Regions from separate parts of the Homo sapiens genome. Here all the other regions are linked to region 1. Evidence: promoter capture Hi-C in human tissues and cell types (Jung and others, 2019). All regions are on one chromosome and are shown on one strand. The core of a region is centred on a gene start or on the middle of the fragment in contact, and the rest is flanking DNA. Distances in the headings are between cores, read along the strand shown.

Evidence for each region. Contacts are between HindIII fragments. The study calls those that stand out against the background at their distance.
Region 2: a contact is called between a fragment that was not itself captured here and the fragment with the promoter of METTL14 in region 1, in 1 of the 25 tissues and cell types used here (hippocampus).
Region 3: a fragment that was not itself captured here is called in contact with the fragment with the promoter of METTL14 in region 1 in 2 of the 25 tissues and cell types used here (liver and mesendoderm cells).
Region 4: a contact is called between a fragment that was not itself captured here and the fragment with the promoter of METTL14 in region 1, in 1 of the 25 tissues and cell types used here (heart right ventricle).

What each region holds. Positions count from the first base shown.
Region 1 is chr4:118,683,930-118,686,920 of GRCh38, reverse strand. It overlaps METTL14 (methyltransferase 14, N6-adenosine-methyltransferase non-catalytic subunit), which reads right to left and starts at 1,529. Exons shown (of 11, transcript NM_020961.4): 1 at 1,321-1,529. The coding sequence starts at 1,386. It overlaps METTL14-DT (METTL14 divergent transcript), which reads left to right and starts at 1,580. Exons shown (of 7, transcript NR_125930.1): 1 at 1,580-1,616; 2 at 2,454-2,513. RefSeq lists enhancers at 991-1,130, 1,311-1,570. The HindIII fragment of the contact is 10,452 bases long and covers 862-2,991 here.
Region 2 is chr4:118,548,645-118,551,499 of GRCh38, reverse strand. It overlaps the pseudogene CEP170P1. Among named protein-coding and RNA genes, the nearest start is that of METTL14-DT, 140 kb to the left of the region's middle. The HindIII fragment of the contact is 4,913 bases long and covers 1-2,855 here.
Region 3 is chr4:118,812,341-118,815,222 of GRCh38, reverse strand. It overlaps SEC24D (SEC24 homolog D, COPII component), which reads left to right. Exons shown (of 23, transcript NM_014822.4): 6 at 68-195. Among named protein-coding and RNA genes, the nearest start is that of SEC24D, 22 kb to the left of the region's middle. The HindIII fragment of the contact is 4,377 bases long and covers 1-2,882 here.
Region 4 is chr4:118,530,956-118,534,003 of GRCh38, reverse strand. It overlaps the pseudogene CEP170P1. Among named protein-coding and RNA genes, the nearest start is that of METTL14-DT, 150 kb to the left of the region's middle. RefSeq lists enhancers at 1-424, 425-925, 2,167-2,666. The HindIII fragment of the contact is 5,936 bases long and covers 1-3,048 here.

The DNA.
Region 1 (2,991 bases), core at 280-2,779:
CAAAATACAAACAAATGTAAACAAATAATGGTTATAAGGCTGGCTAAGTAGAGTGCAACCAATTCATAAAAGACTTTAAAAGGTAGAGCCCCTGGCATCTGCTGAGTGTAAAACACTAAACAAATAATTGTCCTATGAATGTATATTGAGTCAAATAGAAGTTTGAATTCAATATTAAGGAGTAAAACGTCTTCTGTGGTAGCAACAAAGAGCTACTTAACATTTTTGAAGATAATACGATAAAAGAAGTTGGCGAAAAGAAGACTTAGAAAGGATACTTGATTTGCCCAAGATCGTAATGCCAGCGGGATAAGGAACAAAGGAACAAATCTGACTCCAAGTTTCCACGGTTTTAGCCATATTCCACAAATCTGTTCATCAGACCATAAAGAGGATAGGTTTCAGAAGTCCATTTACTAAAACCAAGTTTCATTACTGAAAAATAACTGCAAGATGACTAATTACACTCTATGAGCATTGCTCCTATCACTTTTACTGATCTGAATAGTAGAATGGAAAATACAGCCTCGATTTTAAGTAGAACTGTGCACAATCTGTATTTTCTGCATGTGCACTCTACTAATCAGCAAATGTTAACTTACTCATACACAAGAAAGAAGTGAAGGACAATGGTTTAGAAGACAAGCTTTGGGGAGACAAACCTAGGTTCTATTTCCCAGCAGAGAAGTGAGCGACCAGGAGTAAAATTCCTTAACGTATGGAGCCTTTTTCATTACTTGATAAGTGAAGGTAATAATACCTGTTTCAGGAGATTATTGTGACTAACACAGAGTAAGATTTCAAATATTAACTGTGGATGTGACAAGGATACTCTATATAAGATGCAGAATCTAAAATTTACACTCAGGCTACTTCCAGTGTTGTCTTCAGAAAGATGTCAAAGAAAATACTGTAAACGTATTTCATAATGAAACCACAATCTCAAGAATTTGGGGCTGACGACGAAGAAAAGAAAGAAATAGATGACCATTTAATAGTGAAGAGAAATGTAGGGGATAACATGACACTCATCCTGGCGTGAACATGCCAGACACTCGGTGGGAGTTCCACAAAGCTTAAAGGCTAATCCTGGCATTCGGTTTAGCACCACAAAGACCGCGGAAGGAACTGGAAAAACATTCGGGACACCGCGAAAATTGAGAACTACAAAGGCAGAACCAGGGATCAAGATCGCAGGACCAGAAAGGCCTTAACAGCGGCAGGTAGAGAAGGGACAGAAAAAGGCGGGGTGTGGAGGGAGGAGGCGGCCGCGCACTCGCATTCTCGATCCCTCCCACAGGGGACACCAGGGCCGCGGACCTGCTGCGCGAGGAGCTGTCGCCGTAACTTCTGCCGCTCCCGGATCTCCTGCAAGCGGCTATCCATGTTCCAACTCCGGCTTTTCACTATCCCGAGTACTTGTCAATCTCCAGTGAACTCTTATCCAACCTTTCTTCCGAGTCTGTGGAACAAAATTCACCGGGAGCTTACGAACAGAGTATCCTCATAGCTTTCCTCAGTAGAGACTTCCGGCGCGGCCGGAATTGGCTCGCTTGGCCCGGAAGTCCCGCCTCCTTCTGGACGCTTGCTATGTGACGCCACTTGGAAGGGACCCAGTAAGGGATCTGTTGCGCCACAGGGGTCTCCAGGGCCCTCGCAGGTTGGGGTGGTCTGAGCTAGTCTGAAGGAGGACAGTCAGCTGACTTCTCCTTTATCTCTCTTTCCCAGGATAGCAGGTTCCCTTGGTGTATTACAGTTTCTGAAGTGTTGATTCCCTTTTCAATTGATTCCACAGATGACAGTCCTGACGTTTAAAAAATTGCCAGATAACCTTTAATTTTTTTTTTTTTAACAGAACACAAACTTAAGCCAGATTGCCTAGGATTGAACCTTGGCCTCTCACTTCCTAGACGAGTGGCCTTGGCTAGTTAACCACCTTCGTGAGCCTCAGTTTTGTCATCTGTAAAATGGGAGTCATAAGTGTCTACCTCACAGAGCTGTGATTGAAAGGATAAATAGCACCTTGCACATAGCGGTGTAGAAGTGCTTGTTATTGTTAATATTTTATTTACCTTCACGCAGGTAACAGCCACAACATCTGCCCACTCTTCCCCACACCTTACTGTCCCTTGAAATGTTTCCCATTTTACTATAGTATGCATTTTTTGGCTTCTTCCCTTTAGGGAAATGAGTATGTGATAGTAAAGCGTGTCTTGGTTTATGTCCTAGGAGTCAGAAGCTAAGAGACTCCTTTTTGTGCTTGTACATTTGTCTTAACTGAAAATAACCCAAGGATAAGGAAACAAATAGCTTCCTGAAATTACTCGGATTGCGGGGGTGAGGGGTGAGGGCTGGGGGGTGGTGATTCTGTCTTCATAGGATGGCAGCAAAGGCCAAAGTCTTATTTGAGTTATTACCATTATTATTCACCACACTTGCCATCTTATTTCAAGCCTACAGTGGCGGAAGTGGAGTAAGACATCATGTTGCCTCAAGTTTAATTGGAAATCGCGGTAAGTACTTAACAAAATTAGTAATAAGTCTGTTCTTTCAGAGTAGATTTAATTTTCAGAAATAATATTAAGTCATCCAGATCAAAACCAGTTGAGTCAGGCTGGGCCAAAAGTGGGCAAGACTAGATTCTACTTAGTCATGCCCACTTTTATAGAAATAATTATAATGTATTTCCGAAGAACTAGGTCTGAAAGACAATTTTGAACAAGTAGTCCTAAACAATTCCTTGAGTAATGTCAGCACTACTTGGATACTGTAAAATATTTATGTCCATATGAGTTAAAGTGTATTTCTTTAAAAATCAGTTGTATTATCTGGCAATCATTTAAGTTGAATACTGATTTAAATTTTACCAATGGTGAGAATAGGCAATTATTCACTTAAATATCTGTTGATATTGATTGAGCATTTTATATGGCAAGCACTGTGATAGGCCCTAGAGTCTATAAAGTCTGTCAAAGATTAAAAACTAAAGTC
Region 2 (2,855 bases), core at 147-2,646, 140 kb after region 1:
AAGTAAACGGAAACGACTTATGTCAACTTAATATTTTCATGTTAGATTTGGTTCTCTTTAAAAATTTCATGTTTCTAATGTTTAATTATTACAAGAACAATCTACACTAGTAAGAAACACAAAAGGCTCCTCCTTCATACCCTCTGCAACTTTGAAACAATCAACATTTTAAACCTGTGAGTCAGTAGAAGAAATAAAATTTCCCAAAATTTTGCATTTATATCTTCTTTTGAAAAAGCAAATCAACGAACAGCTCAAAAATAAGGGTCTTTTCCTTAAAATAAAACCCTATTAAAATGTTTTAATCTTCAAGAAAAATTACTATACCATGCTCGAGGTTTTCACAATAGGGACTTCACTTTCGGCTCTTAATTTGCTTTCTATGTCATCCCAATTCCGATCTTTGTCTTTAAATAATATTCTATAAATCAAAAAACATAAGCATATAACTTTTTATATTTTAAAAACCTATTACTTTTTTGTTAATAATACCAAAGCAATGTATCTTTTCAAAGGTACACAAAGAAAAAAAACCAACCATTGCATAAACTGAGAATTAAAATACTAAGCCAACAGTACCAATTAATTCATGTGTATGAGCTCCAATTGAATGCTTATTAATACATGCATATATTCTTTACCGTTTATCTTATTCTTTATTGAAAACAAAATATAAAACAAATGTAAATGATGTTATGACCTCAAAACTTTAATATTTATAATTTACAATACAGTAATGCCCTCTTATCCACGGTTTCTCTTTCCATGGTTTTAGTTAGTGGCAGTCAAGCATGGTCCGAAACTATTACAGTATTTTGGGAGAGGGAGAGAGAGAGAGAGAGAGAGAAAAGACCACACTCACATAACTTTTTTTTACAGTATATTGTTACAAATGTTCTATTTTATTATTAGTTACTATTGTTAATCTCTTACTGTGCCTAATTTATAAATTAAACTTTATCATAGGCATGTATGTGTAGGAAAATACACAGTATATTAGGTTTTAGAACTATCTGTGGTGTCAGGCATCCAGTGGATATCTGGGAACAACATGTATCACCTGGGTATAAGGAGAAAAGACTGTGTAACTGTCACTTATAAAGAAAATGCAATTTTATTCAGACAGAATATATGCAGTATAGGAATAAGTGAGATGAAAATAGGTTGAATTAGGTATAAACAATTGTGTCTGTTAAGACCTCTTTATATAGGAATAAGCACCTTATCGATCAAGAAAAGTGTCTATATTATTTTAAAGACCAAAAATTGGGAGTACTTACTGTGCTTTTCTTTAACAATTGTTAATTCGTGTTAGTATACTTGCACATAATAACCTATTAGGAATTAGGATGCTATCCTTTTGATAAAAACAATTGCCAATAAAGATAATTATCCTATCATTACCCTAACATCAAATAACTTATAAAATAAAGGACCACAAAATTTTGACGTGTCTTTCAAATGTGGGACACTTTTCTAACACTTTAGAGTCTATCAGACATGATTCAGCAGTCTTAGAAAGATGTAAATACTAGCTACTTTTTTGGTTTCTTTTAAAATTTTTTCAGTAAGTCTGGAAATCTAGTTTAAACAACACTATATAACCTCATGTAAATGTATTACTACTGCAAGCTGATCAGCATTTAAGTAGTAAACTAAGTTAATATTTGTGCTGGTATTTCTTCAAAGATCAACATGCCAGACTTACCTTATTTAAAAACATGAAACTCATTAACATCACATCAAGTCTGGAACATTTGCTTAAGGTGGCAACGGGTCTAGAATCTGGTATAAGAATATTCTTATGGCCTACTTATTAAATTTTCTAAACTCAAAAAAATGAACACCCTTGCCAGCCATCTTTTCTAAATTATTATGTTCTTGTAAAAGAGTCCTTGCAGCATTAGGACTGATGGAAAATAAGGAAATAATGACTATTTCATGGACCAACTTAGAACTGTAATGGACTTATACAATAGAGAAAGACTCTGTTTAGCCACACAGTGCTAAAAATTCAGTGAATTTTTCCAGAGGATGGCTACTGAGTATAGTGTTTGTGGATCTAAAACTGTTAGACCATAGACATTTCACCTTTGGTGAAAATGGGTTTTTCACGGGTTGCCCCTGAAAAAAAAATGCCCCCCTGAAGAAATAAATGGTTTATTTTAAAATACAGTTTGTTGGCCAGGCACAATGGCTCATGCCTGTAATCCTAGCACTTTAGGAAGCCAAGGTGGGTGGATCACTTGATTCCAGGAGATCGAGACCAGCCTGGGCAACATGGCGAGACCTCGTCTCTATAAAAAATACAAAAAAATTAGCCAGGTGTGGTGCAGATGCCTGTAGTCCTAGCTACTAAGAAGGCTGAGGTGGGAGGATTGCTTGTGCCCAGGGAGATCGAGGCTGCACTGAGTGAGTGAGTTGTGAACATGCCACTGCACTCCAGCCCATCTCAAAAACAAAAAACAAAAAACAAAAAACAATTTGTAATATGTAATAGAACAGATCTAAGAAGTCAAACTTGTCATTTTGGCATTATGAAATAAACTTTACTGTAATATTTACTATAATATTTAATATTTAAATACTAGAGAATCAGAAAATCAGACCAAGAAATTAGTTTAGACCAGGCTATAATGATCAGAACTTGTTTTTGTTTGAAGGTCCTTATCAATTTTAAGCTGAAAAAATCATAGCTTTCAAAGTGATATTCAGATTATATTATAGATTCAAAATAAGCTAAACTTCAGCATGAAAATACATAAAATTCCAAAGCTTATTTCATTCAATAATTTAAGAATTAAGTTAAATACTTTTGATAAAGCCATTGGTTTTAGGGAAACAAACAGAAGTCT
Region 3 (2,882 bases), core at 129-2,628, 130 kb before region 1:
TCGTCAACAAGTCTTACATGCTGGATTTGGGATGATAGTCATTTCTCTTTAAATTTTTTCCAAGCAGCCAACTCTGGTCCCCAGATGGCAGGCGCACAACTGTCTTACCCAGGAGGCTTCCCTGGAGGTCCTGCACAGATGGCTGGTCCGCCACAGCCCCAGAAGAAGCTGGATCCTGACTCTATCCCTAGCCCAGTAAGTACTCTTCTCACTCTCACAGTCTCACTCACAAAGGAGCATTAATTTTTCTCAGCAACTCATCAGTTTGTTAGCATTTATCCTGTTCATTAGCATAGAAGTTAGGAGATACTCATCACATAGAGGGAAGGCTTCCTTCCTTATATGCATGTATGGGGGAAAGCATGCTAGGGTTATGGGCATACTAAAGGTCTCCATGAAAGAGCAGCCTGTGCTGATTTTTTTTTTCTTTTTTTTTGGTGTCATATAAACTTGGCAGTGTCTACAATGTTTACATTGACATATTTTGGCAGTATCGCTATCTAATGAGTAATTAACAGACTATATCCTATAGAAATATGCTATTTTAGATAACTAAAGGATCCTTTTCAATAAGAGAAACCCATAGAGACTGAAAGTATATTTTACATCTTGCACAATAAAAAAACAAATTTTTTTTAATGTAAAGTTAGAACTAAACTCTTCACTCAAGTGATTTCTTTGGAGGGTTACTCTTTAATAATTTTATCAGTCAAGCTTTGCAAGGCCATTCTGCATAGCAAACAATCCCCAACTTTGCTTACAACTGCAAAGATGTATTTATCACTCAGTTTACATGTAGGCTGTGGCAGCTGCAGATTGGATTTAGGCTCTGCTTCATCCGTCCTTATCATTCCAAAATCCAGCGTGAAGAGGCAAACACTACTGAGGACATGCTATTTTGTGGCATAGGGAGGAAACAGAGCTGGCCAAAATGTGCAACAGCTCTTAAAGCTTCCACTCATGTGTGGCATGTGTCATAACCACTCATGTGCCCTTGGCTGAAGCAAGTCATAAAACAAAGCCCAATGTCACTGAGACAGGGAAGCTGCCAATCTTATGGCATTGGGATGTAAAATCCTTTTGGAATAATAACGAAATTGGCTACAGTTTATTTTGTGTCTTTGAATAGGTTCGATAAACATAAGTACTTGAAGAATTAGAAATAAAGGAGCAGGAAAAGCTACCATATTAGCTAACTTATGCTGTGTAACCAACTGCTACAAAACAGTAGCTTAGCACTACTGTTTATTAATACTCATGACCCAGTGGGTTCCCGGTTTTTCTAATCTGGGCCAGGTTCATCTGATTTTGGCTGAGCTTGCTCATGCATCTGGGGTCAGCTGGAGGCTTGGCTAGAGTGTGGATGGTTTAGGATAATGTATTAGTTTCCTGTGGCTGCTGTAACAAATTACCACAAATCAGGTGACTAAAAACAACAGAAATGTATTCTCTCACAGTTCTGGGGACCAAAAGTCCAAAATCAATATGTTGGCAAGTGCTGTGGTTTGAACATTTGTCTTCTCCAAAACTCATGTTGAAACTTAATCTCCAGTGTGGCAGTGTTGAGAGATGATTGGGTCGTAAGGGCTCTGCCCTTGTGAATGGATTAATCCGTTCATGGATTAGTGGGTTAATGGATTAATAGGTTATCATGGGAGTGGAACTGGTGGCCTTATAAGAAGAAGAAAAGAGACCTGAGCTAGCACGCTCAGCCCCTTTGCCATGTCATGCTCTGTGCCGCTTTGGGATTCTGCAGAGTCTCCACCAGAAGAAGGCTGTCACCACATGTGGCCCCTCAACCTGGGACGTCTTAGCCTCCATAGCTATAAGAAATAAATGTCTTTTCTTTATAAATTACTGTTTCAGGTGTTATAAGCAATGAAAAACGGACTAAGCAGGGCTGTGCTGCCCCTGAAGGCTGTAGAGGAGAATCTGTTCCTAGGCTCTTTCAGCTTCTGGTGGCTCCAGGTCTTCCTTGGCTTGTGACCATGTGACTCCAGTCTCTGCTTCTGTGGTCACATTGAGTCCTCCTTCTCTTTGTGTCTTCTTCTCTGGGTGTCTGTCTCAAAATTCCTCTGCCTCTTTCTTATACATGTGATTCCATTCAGGGCCAGGATAAGCTCCTCCTCTGAAGATCCTTAACTTAATAAAATTATTTTGCCATATGAGGTAATGAAATGGAAAAGGTTCCCTCGTGCCCCTTGGAGGGCATGCAGTGGGGGTGTGGCTCGCTTCTTCAGTGCTCCAAAGCTCAAATCTCTAGGGGAGGATACAGATGGGCAGGCTGTGGGGCTCCGACTCCCATGGCAGTGTCTAGGGGTGAATGTTTACAGCTGAAGTCCCAGTGGGCGTGTGTTACAGGGTGCTCTTTTAGTTTGCCGTCTATAGGTGACTTGTATTAACCAGCTCAATTAGACCCCTTCCTTATCACAAGGACAGAGGGATTTCTGTATCCCAGGTTTTTGCCTTGCTGTACTGGAAGAATTGGATCACACATGGGCTTGGAGAATGAGTGCAAGGTTTTATTGAGTAGAAGTAGCTCTCAGCAGGTGGGGGAGCCAGAGGGAGATGATTTTCCTCTGGAGTCCCACCACTCAGTGGCCCTGGGTCTCCGACTGCCCCGGCCAAACTCCGCCTCTTCCCATGTCTGTCAGTGTGCTCTTCCACTGGCATTCTCCCTCCACGTCCTCTCGCTGTCCAGCTGCTTGTATCTTTATCCGCTGATGTGCTCCTCTCCACGTCTGGCTGCCTTTGTGTCTCCCCACTAGGAACTCAGGTTTTTATAGGCCCAGGATGGGGGTATGGCGGGCCAGGGTGGTTTTGGAAAATGCAACATTTGGGCACGGAAGGATGAGTGCCTGTCCTCACCTAGGTCCATGGGG
Region 4 (3,048 bases), core at 107-2,606, 150 kb after region 1:
TCAAACGTTTTTACATGTAAAACTTTCCAGAGGATACACACATGAACCTCTGGAATTAAGTTTCCTTTGATATTACTGGAAAAAAGCAACGGTGGTGGGCTATTAATGAAGTATACTAGCTTTAGAATCCTAAAACCAAAGTTTATGACCGCAAGTCAAACATTTAACATTGGCTAAGAGATCATAACTGTAATGACTCAGCTTTCAAGAAATAATTTAGTGTAGTTTGTAAATGACCAGAAGTGTTAAAATGTAAAATGAGTTTAAGGAGAGACGTTTAAGGGTCATTCCAGAAAAGCTCATGGTTTCCACACTATCTAGAAGAGTTTAGTAAGCAAAAAAAGTTTTGTAAGAGGAAAGAGGGGATATCAAATGAAAGGTACTCAGGAAAACTGGAAAAAGAAAATATAAGGAAAAAAAGTCTAATGTCAATTATTCTAAGTGAAGTAATTCAGGAATGGAAAGTCAAACACCACACGTTCTCACTTGTAAGTGGGAGCTAAGCTGTGAGGATGCAAAGGTGTAAGAATGATATGAATTAGCTTTTAATCCTTGTATAAATTATGAACTCGTTTGGAACACAGGCTCTGTGTTTTAGGTTTATTTGCCTCCCCAATGGTGACAAATATGGTCAGCGATTCATAAAAAAGTATGATTTATAATAGGATGCACCAGGGAGACTTTTAATCTGAACAGAGGTCACGGTAATGAGATTCGGGAAGAAGAACGCAGAAGAGATTAGCGACCCCTCTCCTTCCCAATTCCTTCTAATGGTATAAAAGCCAGTCAGCCAAATAATGAAGAGCCACATTATTTTTAAAGAGTCAAGGATCTTGTATCAGGCCCCAAAATTGCAAAGGCAGGTATAAAGTAAAAATCCATAAGCATGTGGCTAAAAAATTTTTTTATTTCCATAGGTAAAAACAAATTTCGTTTAAGTATTTGGTTTAGCTTGTATTTGTCCTTCTAAGTGATTACTCACTCATGCTCTCCCCTGCACCTCAAATAGAACAAGTATAGTGGTTTAAGGTTTACAAGGCATGGGAAGAAAAAAAAAAAAACCCCAAGATATTAGCAAATTAACTTCACTTCATTTAAAATTCTCATTGCTTATACAATGTAGGAAAAAGTACACTTGTAAGAGACCCTATACTAGCACACAGAGGGAGTAAGAAGTCAAGTTAAAAAGTACACGAATGCAGGCACCAACTGGACTTATATAACAGGACATATAAGGTTTTTACTTTGTGCATGAGCAAAAAGTTCTGGATGTTCCCTAACCAGTAAAGACCAATTGTGAATCCCCCCTAACCAGTAAAGACCAATTGTGAATCCCCTATCTAGAGGCACTCCAGATGGAATGCTCAGTATCATTGGCTACGAAGCATGAATGCTTAGCAAGGTCAAATACATACTTGGAAATGCTATCTCCAAATAAAAGACAGTATTCTTATTACTACACTGCCTACAAATAAAAATACAGTATTTTTATTAGTATATAAAAAAGTACCCAGATGTGGCTTGAATGTGATAAGGCTATAATTTTAAAAAATGTACATGCCTTGTAAGTACTTGTAACTACATTTTCCCCTGAAGCCTTTTCCTGGTTTTGGCCCATTATTCAAGATTATTTTTCTCAGCTGTTAAAAGCAATGAACATAACCACATTTATGCTATTCTGCCACTTAACTAGATATCTTCTTTCTTTTTTATTAGACAGCACATAATTTTAATACAGCCTTTGGCTTGTTGTGAAGCCACATCTCTGTTCTTCTTGACATGCCTTTCATACAGATGTGTTACCACTGTAAACAGCTCAAGCAGATCTTAAGAAATTCACTTAAGGTTTCCTAGAAATGTGATTCACATGAGTTCTGTATCTTAAACCATGACTTTCAAAATGAGGTAAAATATTGTATAATGAAATCAACATATGCAGGTGTGAATATAAACAAGCAATACTGACTTCCATATATGGATCCTTGAAATGTTTCATTACTGGATGATTGTATCTTATACAGTGAATAATGCTATTATGATAAAACAGAAATACAATCTCTCACATCCTAATTTTTTTCCCAAAAAAAATAACTGTAGCTAGGTAAAAATGGGGCTAAGACAAGGAATTTCTACGTAAAAATTTTTAGAGTTTGACTTAAAAATTTTCAATTTGGAATCTTAAGCATTTAAACTATTCAGGGCCTACTGATAATGAGCTAGGTATCTTTTAAAAAACAAAAGAGGCTGGGCACAGTAGCTCACGCCTGTAATCTCAGCACTTTGGGAGGCTGAGGTAGGTGGATCACTTGAGGTCAGGAGTTCAAGAATAGTCTGGCCAACGTGGTGAAACCCTGTCTCTACTTTTACAAAAAATTAGCCAGGCATGGTGGCATGCGCCTGTAGTCCCAGCTACTCGGGAGGCTGAGGCAGGAGAATCCTTTGAACTTGGGAGGTGGAGGTTGCAGTGAGCCGAGATCATGCCACTATACTCCAGCCTGGGCAACAGAATGTGAGACTCTGTCTCAAAAAAAAAAAAAAAATCCAACAAAACAACAACAACAAAAAACAAAGGAGATATAGACAAATTTGGGAAGACTCCAGGCATCATTTATTCAACAAAGTTTATTTGGTATCAGTATCAGCTGGGCGCGGTGGCTCATGCCTGTAATCCTAGCACTTTGGGAGGCCGAGGTGGGCGGATCACCCGAGCTCAGGAGTTTGAGACCAGCCTGGCCAACATGGTGAAACCCCATCTCTACTAAAAATACAAAAAAAATTAGCAAGGCGTGGTGGTGTACACCCATAATCCCAGCTACTCAGGACGCTGAGGCACAAGAATTGCTTGAACCTGGGAGGCAGAGGTTGCAGTGAGCTGAGATCGCACCACTACACTTCAGCCTGGGTGACAGAGTGAGACTCTGTCTCAAAATAAAATAACATAATTTAAAAAATTTATTTAGTATTTACAAAGCAATAGTTATGAATGATTCCATGATCTCACAGTACAATAAAGAATAAAAAGTCCAGGCAAGAGGCTTAAAGTTTAAT